5 separate regions of the Homo sapiens genome follow, and all the other regions are linked to region 4. Evidence: promoter capture Hi-C in human tissues and cell types (Jung and others, 2019). All regions are on one chromosome and are shown on one strand. Each heading gives the region's core, a stretch centred on a gene start or on the middle of the fragment in contact. The rest is flanking DNA. Distances are from core to core; before and after follow the strand shown.

Evidence for each region. The method cuts DNA at HindIII sites, captures the fragments that hold promoters and counts their contacts. A contact is called where the count stands out against the background at its distance.
Region 1: a fragment that was not itself captured here is called in contact with the fragment with the promoter of TSC22D2 in region 4 in 1 of the 25 tissues and cell types used here (dorsolateral prefrontal cortex).
Region 2: a contact is called between a fragment that was not itself captured here and the fragment with the promoter of TSC22D2 in region 4, in 1 of the 25 tissues and cell types used here (IMR-90 fibroblasts).
Region 3: a contact is called between a fragment that was not itself captured here and the fragment with the promoter of TSC22D2 in region 4, in 1 of the 25 tissues and cell types used here (hippocampus).
Region 5: a fragment that was not itself captured here is called in contact with the fragment with the promoter of TSC22D2 in region 4 in 1 of the 25 tissues and cell types used here (mesenchymal stem cells).

What each region holds. Positions count from the first base shown.
Region 1 is chr3:149,947,108-149,949,906 of GRCh38, reverse strand. All of the region lies in intron 8 of RNF13 (ring finger protein 13), which reads right to left. Among named protein-coding and RNA genes, the nearest start is that of PFN2, 22 kb to the left of the region's middle. The HindIII fragment of the contact is 8,745 bases long and covers 1-2,799 here.
Region 2 is chr3:150,068,906-150,071,605 of GRCh38, reverse strand. No RefSeq gene overlaps it. Among named protein-coding and RNA genes, the nearest start is that of LINC01998, 12 kb to the left of the region's middle. The HindIII fragment of the contact is 4,741 bases long and covers 1-2,700 here.
Region 3 is chr3:149,923,860-149,926,559 of GRCh38, reverse strand. The region is part of intron 8 of RNF13 (ring finger protein 13); the gene reads right to left. Among named protein-coding and RNA genes, the nearest start is that of PFN2, 46 kb to the left of the region's middle. The HindIII fragment of the contact is 7,700 bases long and covers 1-2,700 here.
Region 4 is chr3:150,406,890-150,409,589 of GRCh38, reverse strand. It overlaps TSC22D2 (TSC22 domain family member 2), which reads right to left and starts at 1,292. Exons shown (of 3, transcript NM_001303264.2): 1 at 1-1,292. The coding sequence starts at 239. RefSeq lists an enhancer at 182-231 and a silencer at 602-1,201. The HindIII fragment of the contact is 4,156 bases long and covers 1-1,740 here.
Region 5 is chr3:150,094,681-150,097,380 of GRCh38, reverse strand. It overlaps LOC105374313 (a long non-coding RNA gene), which reads right to left and starts at 938. Exons shown (of 3, transcript NR_136187.1): 1 at 784-938. The HindIII fragment of the contact is 4,543 bases long and covers 1-2,700 here.

The DNA.
Region 1 (2,799 bases), core at 216-2,715, 460 kb after region 4:
AAATTAAAAGAGAAAAGAATAGAAGCAATAAATAAAGTTATAATGACTAGGGATTTCCTGAAATTGGTTTCAGACACCCCACCACAGATCCAGGAAGTTAAGAGAACACCAAGCAGGATAAATCCCCAAAAAAGAAAGAAGAAAAAGAGAAGAAATGAAGAGAAGAAAAAAAAAAAAAGAATGAAGGAAAATGAAGAGAATCTGAGGGACTTCTGGGATAGCATCAAATAGAAGAAAACATGCATTATGGGAACCTCAGAAGGAGAAGAAAGAAAGGGGTAGAGGACCTATGTGAAGAAATAATGGTTGGAAACTTCCCAAATCTGAGAGAAATGGATATACAAATTCAAGAATCTCAGATAATTCCAACCAGAATAAATCTAAAGGGATCTAAGGGATCTACACTGAGACATATAATCATATTATAATTAAACTGTCTAGTGACAGAGATCTTGAAAGCAGCAAAAAAAAAAAAAAGCAACCCAGTACATACAAAGGAGCTCATATTAGATTCTCAGCAGACTTAGCAGAAACCCTGCAGGCTAGGAAGTGGGATGATGTATTCGAAAGAAAAGCGGTGCCAATCAAGAATGCTATGTTTAGCAAAAGTGCCCTTTCAAAACAAACAAAAACAGAAATTAAGACTTTCTCAGATAAAAATTGAGGGAGTTTATCACCACTAGACTTATTCTATAGGAAATTCTAAAAGAGCACCTACAAGTAAGTGAAAAGCTGATAAACAGGAACATAAAACCATGTATTAATAAAAACATAAGTCCCAGGTAAAGTTAAATATATAGACAAATATAGAATCCTGTATTATTGTAATGTAGGTGAGTAAATCACTTATAAATCTGGTATATAATTTTTTTTTTTTTCTAGACAGGGTCTGGCTCTGTCACCCAGGCTGGAGTGCAGTGGCATGATCTCGACTCTCGGCAACCTTCGCCTCCCAGGCTCAAGCCATCCTCTTGCCTCAGTCCCCCAAGTAGTTGGGACCACAGGCACTTGCCACCATGCCTGGCTAATTTTTGTGTTTTTTTGTAGAGATGAGGTTTCACCATTTTGCCCAGGCTGGTCTCAAACTCCTGAACTCAAGTGATCCGCCCACCTTGGCCTCCCAAAGTGCTGCGATTACAGCCATGAGTCACGGCACGTGGCCCAGAATTTTTCTAAAAGCATAAAAAGTAATAATTACATTAAATGATAAGCAATGTAAAAACAGGCAATTTGAGTCATCAATAACATAGAATGGGAGGCAGAGAGACAAGGATCATGGTTTTTATATGTGATTGAAGTTAATTTGTCAGTTTGAAATATTTAAAAGGTCAGTTTAAAACAGATTGTTAGAACTTTTAAGATGTTTTATGGAATTGCAAGGGTAACCATAAGGAAGATATCTGTAGAATATATACAAAGGGAAATAAGGGAATCAAAACGTCACTAGAAAAAATCAACAAAAAACACAGTGAGAGGAAAGACAAAGCGGTAAGACAGACAAAAAACAATGAACAAAAGTAATAGTCCTTTCCTGTCAGTAATTATTTTAAATGTAAAAAGATCAAACATACCAAGACATTGATTGAATGGCTAAAAAATATGAGATCCAACAATAAAGTGCTTACAAGAAAATCATTTTATATCTAAAAACACGTGGGGACCAGGCACGGTGGCTCACACCTGTAATGCCAGCACTTTGGGAGGCCGAGGTGGGCAGATCATGAGGTTAGGAGTTCGAGACCAGCCTGGCCAGCATGGTGAAACCCCATCTCTACTAAAAATACAAAAAATTAGCTGGACATGGTGGCGTGTGCCTGTAATCCCAGCTACTCGGGAGGCTGAGGCAGGAGAATTGCTTGAACCCAGGAGGTGGAGGTTACAGTGAGCCGAGATCGCGCCACTGCACTCCTGCCTGGGTGACAGAGCAAGACTCCTTCTCAAACAAACAAACAAAAAGCACACATAGGCTAAAAGTGAAAAGGTGGAAAAGATATCCTATGCAAATGAGAAACTGGAGAGCAGGAGTGGCCATACATATATCAAACAGAATAGACTTTAAGAAAAAAAACTATCATAAGAGAAAAACGGGGGCATTATATAATGACATAATGGTAAATTCACCAAAAAGATATAACAATAAATATATACACATCTAACATCAAAGCAGTCAAATACGTGAAGCAACATTGACAGAACTGAAGGAAGATGGCCAGGTGCGGTGGCTCACGCCTGTAATTCCAGCACTTTGGGAGGCCCAGGCGGTCGGATCACCAGAGGTCAGGAGACCAGTCTGGCCAATATAGTGAAACCTCATCTCAACTAAAAATACAAAAAAGTACCTGGGTGTAGTGGCAGGCGCCTATAATCCCAGCTATTCAGGAGATTGAGGCAGAAGAATCGCTTAAGCCCAGCGGCAGGAGGTTGCAGTGAGCCAAGATTGCACCACTTCGCTCAAGCTTGGGCAAAAGAGCGAAACTCCGCCTTTAAAAAAAAAAAAAAGAACTGAAAGAAGAAATGAGCAGCAACACAATACTAACAGGCGACTTCAATACCCCACTTTCAGTAAGAATAGAACAACCAGACAGAAGATCAAACAGAAGACACAGATGACTTGAATAACTCTTTAGACCAATTGGAACTAACAAACATATACAGAACACTTCACCCAACAACAGGGGATACACATTCTCAAACGCACATGTAATATTCTCCAAGACAGACTACATATTAGACCACGAAAAAAGCCTTAAATGTAAGAAGATTGAAGTCATACAAATATATTCTCCAACCTCAGCACAA
Region 2 (2,700 bases), core at 7-2,506, 340 kb after region 4:
AAGGCCAGCCTCACCTTTTCACCACCGCCCCCCTGCTCATTATTGGTTTTCACCTGAATTCCTCACAGGTTCCTGACTGAGCCCTGAAGGCGTTAAAGTTTATGAAAACAGTTAGAGTTTGCTGACAAATATTTGGACTAAGGGTATTGATTGGAAGATGTGAAATTCTTTCTTTCCAGCCTCTGTAATTTGTGTCAAATGTTCAGATCGCTGTGTGCTCCATTGTCCTCAGAAGTCCAGGCGTGCCATGTCACTCATCCGCACCTGGACCCTCTCCCCATGATAAGAGCTTCTCTCTGTTGCTAGCTCCTGGATGCTTCACCACCCTTTATTAGTTTCCTAATCCTGCCCACATTTAAGAAAATAATCCTCTCATTGCATTGTCTTCAGTTAAACCCTTTGATTGTTTCATCTAATTTCTGTTAGGATAGTAACCATCACAACTCCCTGCCCAAATCCTACAATAAGTTCTCAGTGTCCTAATGATCAAATCTAAACTCTTTTATGCCCTTCCTTCCTGACCTCAGCTCCTGCCACTCTCCCCTTGTCCAGTAGGTTCCATTCTGTTCCAGTTGTTTCCTGTTGGGGGCTGTTTGCATCAGTGTTCCCCCCTCTAGATTGTTCTCTACATGCTGGTGTGGCTGTCTCATTCTCACTGTCATCGTGCCAGGTCAGATGTCACCTCTTCAGAAAGGCCTTTCCTGGCTACTTGAAGAAAAGTAGCTCTCCTCCCTAGACCCTCTCCAGCCATTCCATTACCCTGGTGTACTTTCTTTTTTTAAAGCTTTTGTCACTATCTGAAATTACATAGATTGTATTTGCAAACACATTTGTTGTCTTTCTTTGTTCCACACTAACCTAAGCTCCAAGGAGGCCAAGGCTTTATCTTATTTACCACTGTATGGTCAGAGTTACTGCAAAAAAGAGATTATGGCACACTCAAACTGAGTCAAAGGAGTTTAGTAAAGGAATCATTTAGAAAGATGAGGGCAACAGGGGATAGGGCAATACTCTGGGGCTAGTAACACCAGGGTCATCAGAGTGTTTGCCTGAACTCTGAGAGGACTGTCTGGTGGGCAACAGCTGCTAGTAACAAACCCACAGCAAACTGGCAGGGAGGCAGGTTCACTGGTCACTCTCCTCCTTCTCATTGTCCAACCTCTTGTCACAGGTCCCCATTATCCAATAGGAAGTTGGAGGGCAAAAGACTCAATGCAGCCCATACCAGTCGGCTTCCTGGGACACAGCACAGGGTAAATGGCCGAGCGCCTCTCAAGAAGCGTAGCATCATCTTCACTAGGCTCAAGATGAAGCTCAGCACCAGGCCCACCATAGTTTCCAGCCTCAGGGGCACCATTCACCCAGATTTGTGCAAAACGGTGGCTGTGCCTGGCAGTAGGATATCAGAGAAGGAGGCATGGAATGAATCCATGAGTTTTCATGGGTTTGGCCCTGGTTTCTAGCTACTGGTTGGGGGGACATTCCCTCCCTCTGTAACACAGGGCAATCAGGACAAATGAAGGTTCACTCCCTAGTGGGCTTCCTGAAAGAGTTCCCAAGACCTCAGCCATTGCCCTGTAAGATGGAGAGAGAAAATTCCTGTAACTGCTAGGCTTGTACATTTTCGGCTAAGGACATTTCTGAAGTTGAAGAACAATCTCTATTTATGTTCAGCATGGAAACTGGAGCTTGTTTTGCATTGTGTTTGGAGGCAGAGAGGAATCAGGTAGCAGGCTGGCAACTCTTCTGATTTTTTCATGGGCTACAGAGCTCTCCAGGCTTTGTGGGGGTAGGAACAAAATAATCCATCTACAGGATTAGTGGCTGAATGGGGAAGAAGCCAAGTCATTACACACTATGCCATCAACTTTTAGCAAGGTGTAGAGTTACCATGGTGACATGTATGGGGTAGGTATATCTAAGTGGATTATTAATCAGAAATCCCCCTTCAGTGCCTACTAGGTATGGGAATGGTGAGAATTCAAAGCAATGTGAAGACAGATGTATTCCCTTTAATATTAAGCAATGAGAGGAGCTATAGATGCATGATTGAGAAGCAATTACAAGGGGACATGTTAGATTACTAAGAGTGAAGTGGGAGCTACTTGTCAAAAGAGTTTGAACATAAGGCTGGAGAATAATATGATGTGATGAAAATTGCTGCCAGAACAATCTTCCTCACTTCCTCAGTGTAGGGCAGGTTGAAAGAGGAGGTGGCCTGGGATGGCTGTGAAAATGAAGAAGCTGGAACAGATGGGACAGACTGCCAGAATGTACAGCCCAGTCATCCCGAGTATGCCTGATGGCTAGGCTATGTCATCCCATAAATACAACTGAGCTGTAAACAGCTGTGAGCTCTCTGTGGCTGTGTTTACCTAGTAAATTTAATTTCCCAACACATTTTTCTACTTGATCCATCCTATACTATTTGGATGAAATAATGTCATTGCTTTCAATTACTTTGCATTACTTTTGTTACAAAAGGAAAATGACTCCCTAGCACGTGTTAATTTCTGGTAGGAATTCCGGTTCCTTGTACAGAAAGCTGCTGCATACTTGTTGACTGATGACACACTGATCAATAAAAAAAAGATAATAAAACCAGTGAGTACATGTCCTCTGGGGGCCTTTTAACTTCAAGCCTATAATGCAGAAACTTGTTCTTTCTTACCATAAACCACCCTGAGGCACCAGCTGACA
Region 3 (2,700 bases), core at 138-2,637, 480 kb after region 4:
AACATCTGTATGATCTTGGGATAGAAAACGTACTCTAAAAACACAGAAGAGGCTGGGCATGGTGGCTCACGCCTGTAATCCCAGCACTTTGGGAGGCCAAGGTGGGCAGATCATGAGGTCAGGAGATCGAGATCATCCTGGCTAACATGGTGAAACCCCATCTCTACTAAAAATACAAAAAGGAGCCAGGCATGGTGGCGGGCGCCTGTAGTCCCAGCTACTCGGCAGGATGAGGCAAGAGAATAGTGTGAACTCGGGAGGCGGAGCTTGCAGTGAGCTGAGATCACACCACTCCACTCCAGCCTAGGGGACAGAGCGAGACTCCGCCTCAAAAAAACAAATCAAGACAAAACAAAACAAAAATAGAAGAATACTACCATGAAAGGCAAGAATTCTGGTCCATAAACTAGAAAAAGACAGTTAAAACACAAGAATTATTGAAGAACTAAATTGCCATACTCTACGCCTCCCTCTGGAGGCTTGTAGGAACATATAAAGAATTCCTCCCATATATGAAACAGACACACGGGCATATATCATGAAAGGTACTTCGTGAAAGTGAAAATCCAACTGGCAAATAATGTGAACAGATATTTAACCTCATTGCAAGAAGGGAAATAAAAAGTAAAACAACGAGTTATAAACCCACCAGAATGCTAAAATTTAAAAGTCCATCAGTACAAAGTATTGGATAAATACATAGAACAACAGGAACTCCTATAGACTGTTGGTGAGAGTAGAAATTGGTACCATCAATCACTTTGGAAATGATTTTGCATTACCCAATAAAATTGAAAATAGCTATATACTATGATCAAATTAATCTACTTCTAGGTATATATGCTAAAGAAATTCATGGACATATGCACCAGGATATATGTACAAGTATATTCTCAAAAGTATGATTTATAATAGCCCTAAACTGAAAAAAAAAGAATGTCAATTAACAGTAAAGTGGGTAAGTAAAATCTTTAAAAGACAGAATGAAAGTAAATGAACTATACCTAAATGCAACTAAGTGTATAAATTTCATTAAAAAATTAATCAGAGGTAAGAAAAATACAATTCAAAAATAGGCAAAATTAAGCCAACTGTTTAGGTATGCATTCGTATGTGGTACAACTTGAGAAAGGCAGTGAAATTATCATAAACCAGGATAGTGATTACCTCCAGAGGACAAGAAAGGATTATTTATCTAGAAGGGAACATAACAGCTCCTGGGGTGGCAGTAATGTTCTATCTCTTGAACTGGATGATTCTAGAAATATGTATTCTACATACTCTTCTGTATAAATGTTATACTTCACATTTTGAAAAAAGTGATGATAAACACCACTCCATAGAGAAAAACAGTTATGCTGATGGGTTCAAAATGGGTTCAGGCTGCCAAGCAACCATATTATATTTCCCTAGTCCATTCCTCCTCCTACTCTCCTGGAATAATAGTATTTTATACCTCTGTTCTTAAAAGCTCCAATACCTCCTCCTCTGTCCTCACCCTCAGTTGGTGATTTCCTACCTGAGAGAAATTAAAGCAAAGAACATTTCCACAGACTCACCACTACAAATACCCACCTACTGTGATTTTTCACCCACATATTCTACTTTCCCTTAGCTCAAGTCTCTATGATACTACCTAAGGCCAGTTCACCTTTTTGTGCAAGATATCCAATCTCCTCTTGCCTTCTCAAGAACATTACAGGGACTCTCCCATCTGTCACCTACATCAATTTCCTTTAGCAAACAAACATGCTGTTATTTCTTGACTCAACTTCCCCCAGCAGCTATGACCCCATTTCTTTGCTCCCTTTTTTAGTTAAACTTCTTACAAAAACTATCTCTAATTCCTCTCTTTCCACCATTCTCTCTTAAATCAACTACAATCAGATTTTTGGCCTGACCACTCTGTCAACTGCTCATCAAGATCATCAATAGTCTCTAGTGGTCAATACTGAGCTCTCATCTTACTTATGTTCAGCAGCACTGACACAGGTTATCATTCCTTGCTCCCTGATAGATTTGCATCACTGGGTTTCTGGTAAATCACACTCTCCTGATTTTCTTCCTATGTAATTGGTCACACCTTCTCAGTCTCCACTGCTGCCACTTCTGATTCCTCTTCTACTGAATGATGGAATGCCCCACGGTGTCTTTGGTATTCTCTCTCTCTGTACGCACTCTCTTGGTAATCTCATCCAGTCTAATGATATAAATACATTTTCATGCTGGTATTTCCAGTTCAGACCTCTCTCTTAAACTTCTAACATCTAATAGACATCTGAAATTCCATATGTTCAATACCAATCTTCCAATTTCCCTCCTAAAACCTGCTCTCTCATACATTAACCATCCTTATTGCTATTTAAGGACTGTCCTTAAATAGACCATCCATTTTGTTGTTCAGACCAAAAAATCTGGAGTCATCCTTGTCTCCTCTTCCAATATCTAGTCCATCAGTAAATTCTGTGTATTCCATCTCCAGATACAGCCAGTATTTAAAGATTTCTTCTCCTCCACTGATATCACCCCAAGCCACATTTATATCACACCTGAATTACTACAATAACTTTCCTGTCTGTTCTCTCTGTTTATACCCTTTGCCATCTAATAACCTATTCTTAATGTCAGCAGAAGGATCCTTTTAACAGTTAACTGAGACATTCTCTCTCTCCTCTGTTCCAAATCCTACTACAGCTACCC
Region 4 (2,700 bases), core at 43-2,542:
GTCTCCGCATCCCCAACATTGTTAAGCGTCTCTTCGGAAGAGCTGCGCTCGCAGACCTCCTCAGGGCCATAATCCGTGGCCCGAGAGACGTCGAAAATCTCGGAGGAGACGTCCTCTGTGCGTGACTCGTCCGGGTCGTCCAAGCTCTCGGTGTCCTCGGTGATGCTAGTGGCCACCTGGGCCGTGGTGACACTGGTGATCTGGAAGCAGCTCTTCTTCTTGGCCGGCATCTTGGACATGGTGAAGAAGGCTGGAGGGCAGAGAGGCACGCCGGCTCCTCTGGGTCCTGTCGGAAACCGGGGAGGGCAGAGCACGGGCCCCCAAAGACAAAGTCCGAGTCTGCGCTGGGGTCTGAGGCCCGCCGCTGTTAAGAGTCACGGGCTGATCCAGGCGCTGGCCGCCCGGTGAGACATCCTCCTCCTCGTTTCCTTCTCTGTGTCGGTCTCTTCGGCTCTGCCCCCGTCTCAGTCCCGCGGCGGCTCCTCCTTCCTTTTTAGCTCTCGCAGCCGCGGCGCCTCAATTCAATTCCCTCAGAGGCGGCGAGAGCGCGAACCCAGGGGCGGGCCGGCTGCTTCCTCTCTCGTCTCCGGGCAGCCGTGGTCAGTCCAGCTCGGCGCTCGGCGCGGTCAGCAGGCCTTGGCTGGGGGTGGGAGTGGGAGGGCGAAGAGGAGGAGGAGGAGGCGGTGGCGGCGGCGTGAGGGGCGGTGCTGCCCCGCTCGGGCTCCTCAGGCCGGTGCCGGCGTCAGCGCTGGGCTCTCTGACTGAGGGAAGGAGCGGCGAGTCCGGAGTCGGAGATGCCTAATTCAGCCGGGAGCCGCGGGCCGGAGCTGGCTGAAGGTCCGCGGGCGGGCGGTGGGGCTGTGGCGCGGGCAGGCGGCCCTCCCTCCCCGGCTCTAGCCGGAGCTCAGCCCCAGGGACATGTCGACTGCCTCAGGCGGAAACCCGCTCTGGGGGAGGGGAAAGCCGGCTCGGTCCTCCCCTTACAGGGGGAACCACCCCTGCGGGCGGGCGGCGACGGCGGTCTCGGCCTCCCCTCGCGGCTTCTCTCAGAGAGGGGCGGCGGCGGCAGACCGCTGGCACGGGACCGGAGGCGCCCCGGCTGTGTGAGGTAGCGGTGGTGGCTTCTCCGGCTCCTCCTCGGTGCGCCCAATTCCTAAACCCCGAAGAAACTGAAATTCAAACTGCTGAAGCGGCGGCTGCAGCTCCCTCCGCTGGGCCAAGATGGGGCTGAAATGGCCGCGCCAGGGATGCTGGGAGGAGCAGCAGCCCCGCTGCCGCCGCCGCTGCCGACTAAAATGCCGCCGCTGCCGCAGCCACCGCCAGCGCCGCAGCCGCCGCCGTTCCGTGACGCACCGGCGTCGTGACGTCACCGCTCCGCCCCCTCCGGTTTCCTGCAGTTTCGCGTGGAACCTGGGGTGGGGGGCAATGGGCGGGGCTAAAGGTTAAAAAAGGGAGCGGTTTCTTTATTTAAAATTTTTAAAATTTAAATTTTGTGTTGTAGGTTCTTTAAGCATTGACGAGCTAAAGACCATTTTAAATTCTAAGCCTAGGGAAGCTTACAATGGAACTAATCAGATGTTTTTATGTCGGTTTGTTCCGAGACAGTGGAAGACTGGAGGTCATGTGCTTGTGTCTAATGTTTAGCAAAATCTTAGTGAAACGAGGGCGATAGGAATGGGGGCTGGGGAAGACTTAGATGGGATAAAAAGAGGTGCGGCTGGAAGAACTAAATCACTTTAAAACTTCTGAAAATAAATGTTGACCATTGTAGTCAGAGGAGTAAAATGTTCAGAGAAATGGGGATGATTAAACAAGAACGGCAAGCCAGATTGAGTCAGAAAATTATCTTCCTGCCAGAAATTCTGTCTCCCACAACGGCATCAGGGGGTGGTTACTTGCCCAGGGTGTAGTCAGTTTTTAAAAAGCTTAAGGGTTACCAACATATTCCTAAATTTCCTGAATTTGCTGTGATTCCAGGATTCATTTAAACTCTTGAGACTGTTTTACTTTCGGCACGAAATCAGCTCATGGGCTTTATAAATGTAGAACCTACTGCATTATAGTTCTTCTTTTTGTTTATTCTAAAACTGTTAGTAGCAGCCAGCGTATTATATGATTTGGATTGGGCCATGAACAACCGTAACGAGTGATAAAGCACCCTTTCCTGTTCCAATGCAAAGAACAACTATGAAAAGAAAGTACTGGCAAATTTATCATCTTGTAGTTAGTTCCTGGCCAAAGAAAATGGTAAGGCCATTCTTTTAAGCAGTTAAAAAAAAATGGGGATGGGCTCTTAAACTTTGGCATGCTAAGGCCATTCTTTTAAGCAGTTTAAAAAAATGGGGATGGGCTCCTAAACTTTGACATACTAAAGCAGTCGTCATTTAGGTAAAATCTAAGTCTTAATGGAAATCGTGATTTCATATCTACTGCAGCGTTAGCAATCACATAATGATAACTTAAATCAGTAAATCGTTGAACTCGGTTCTCTAATCTTTGAAGAATAGAAATACTTTTTATCCCAAAAGATGTTTTGAGAATTAAATTTGCAGAGAATTTTTTAGGTCTTTAGTTGTAATTTATAGAGCTAGGTCTTTTAACTTTAGTGGAAACCATGCCCTCCAAACCCAAGTGACTGGAGTCAGAATGTGAAATAAGACGACATAAAATCCCTATTTCTTAAGGGGCTGGGCGAAAGTA
Region 5 (2,700 bases), core at 136-2,635, 310 kb after region 4:
GTGCTTTCAGAAATCACATTGGTGGGTGGCTAAAGTGATCTGAAGATGAAAGAAGGGAAACAGCCCAGGTCCTAGCCTTGGAAAAAACAAAGAGCAATGCAGGCTTGATGCAGAGTCCGCAGGAATTAAAGAGATTTGTTTCTGAAGCAAAGTGCCAGGATTCTCCCCAGTGCCAAACGGAGGAAATGCTTGGTATTTCTGGAGCAAAGCACTCCAAGTGTGCTGTAACATCAGTATTATTGGGCATTTTTTGAAATTACTAGTTACACTTGGTTGAATAAATGCTCCTAAATGCAATTAATGTATTATATGTTAACTTCATGGATAAACTAAGAAAAAATAGTCATTATCTTGTCTCTCTAAGAGATACTACAAAGCAATATGCACATACTGAGAGGCTTTGTGTTGTTGCCACAGTTGTAGGAGACAAACAAGGAGAGACCAGAGTTCCCTGGCCCAGCTGGGGATGTCCCTTCAGCTCCCCAACACCCACACACAGACTGCTTCATGCACAGCCCTTCCCCCAACTTGGAAGCCCCCGTTGAGAAGCTGTGTTTGGGTAAGTTGGGAAGTGCAGCTTCCTGCCTGGTCCCAAATGCACCCCCAAAAGCAGATGACCTTCATGGACCTCCCCAAAGGTGGATGATGGCACAAAAGTAGAGTCTGATCCCAGGAAAAAGGACGAAGCCTCCAGAAATAGTGTGGCTTTGACTCTCAGCCTCCCACTGCAGCTCTCCTCAAACCAATCCTCATCGCTTTTTTAGAAGAATGAGATAAGCTCACCAGATGATTTCCTCTGGGCTTCCCTCTTCAGGATTATGAGGAGACTCCAGAATGGATTGTGAGTACTGGGTCTCAGTTCCCCTCTGCAGAGAAGATTTGCCATTTGCTTGACAATTCGTTGTGCCAGGTACTGTACTTAGAAGGCTTCACTCCTTTGTATAGCCACTAGCAGTGGATGTACTACCTCCTTGTGAGGTCCCTTGGCAACAGCATAGCATAATTGGGGTATTGTTAGCTATGCAGAACCTCACCTGACCCAAACCCTGCTGAAACAGACTACATTTGAATTAGATTCTTCAGGTGATTTGGAAAGGCATTAGCTGGGAACTACTGATTTGAACTGTTTGAGAAGTTAAACTTTATTTAATGGATCTGAGATCAAATTCCAGCTCCACCACTTGCTATGTGACTTCAGCAGAACCACCCAGCTAAACCACTCTTGAATTTTTTTTTTTTTTTTTTTGAGATGGAGTCTCACTCTGTCGCCCAGGCTGGAGTGCAGTGGCGTGATCTTGGCTCACTGCAACCTCTGCCTCCTGGGTTCAGGCGATTATCCTGCCTCAGCCTCCTGAGTAGCTCAGAATACAGACACCCACCACCATGCCCAGCTAATTTTTGCATTTTTAGTAGAGACGGGGTTTCACCATGTTGGCCAGGATGGCCTCGATCTCCTGATCTTGTGATCCACCCGCCTCAGCTTCCCAAAGTGCTGGAATTACAGGCATGAGCAACCGTGCCTGGCCTGAATTCTTGACTTGCAGAAACTATGTGAAATAATAAATATTTATTGCTGTTTTAAGTTACTGCAGTATGGGATTATTGATTATGGCACAATAGGTAATTAATATGCCTGCTATAGTAGCCAAATATATATACAGTCTTTCCCAATAAAAATTTTCATATCTAAGATCAATCAAAAGAAATAAAAAGAAGGAAATAAAATTCTTTTTCACTGGCACTTAATAAAGTATTCCAATATTACAGAAAAGCATAAAGCACACAGGTCCAAGATAAGAAATGTTAGCAGAGGGGACATATCCTTCCCATGTCCCCTTAGTTTTCCATCGAAGGGGTTGATTAACCACTTCATTTGGGGAGGGTTCCCTTAGCATTTTCTTCCAGGAGCATCTTTATGTCCCTTCACACTCTCATCCCTGGGGGAGCCAACTTAACTGAATGCTGCATTTGGGAGAAGGGCCTGAAAATACTCAGCTCTGTCTGGTCCTCTCAGCTACAGAGGGAGGCTGACTCTGCAACTTCACACATAAGCTTATGGAAATGGCCCTTGCAGGGAAGGCCTGAAGTGGTCCAGTATGTCCAAAGAATCTGTACAGGGTCTTAAACTGAGTGGAGTGTTAGGACCCACGTGTTCACATGCTTAAGCCATGTCCTCTGAGCCAGCTTTCATCAGTAGCAACATGGCACTTTGATTTTTTGATTTGGGGTTTTAAATTTAAGTCTTTAATCCATCCTGAGTTAATTTTTGTATCTGGTGTAAGGAAGGGGACCAATTTCAATTATCTGCATATGTGTATCAGGTCTCTTTAAACTGTTTTCTCAATTAATCCTAATTCATTCCCATGAGGTACATCATTGTCCCCATTATGTAAAGTAAGAAACTGAGATCCATAAGTGCACATTCATTATTTCAACAAATATTTATTACATGCCAATAATATACCAGGAACTGCTCCAGACAATACATGAAAGTGATGCCTCTAGGGGAATGAGCTTGCGGGAGTCACAAAGTTGTAAGAAAGAAAGGAGCCTGGACTCAACTTCCGACTGACTCACCCTGCACTTTCCTGAGCAGCTGACTGTCACACAGCTGGGTGGTTCAGGCCAGTACAGACCAGGCACCAGGTGAAAGGTTTCATGTTTCATCTTTCATTCAACCCTCAGCCTTCAGGGGATGCT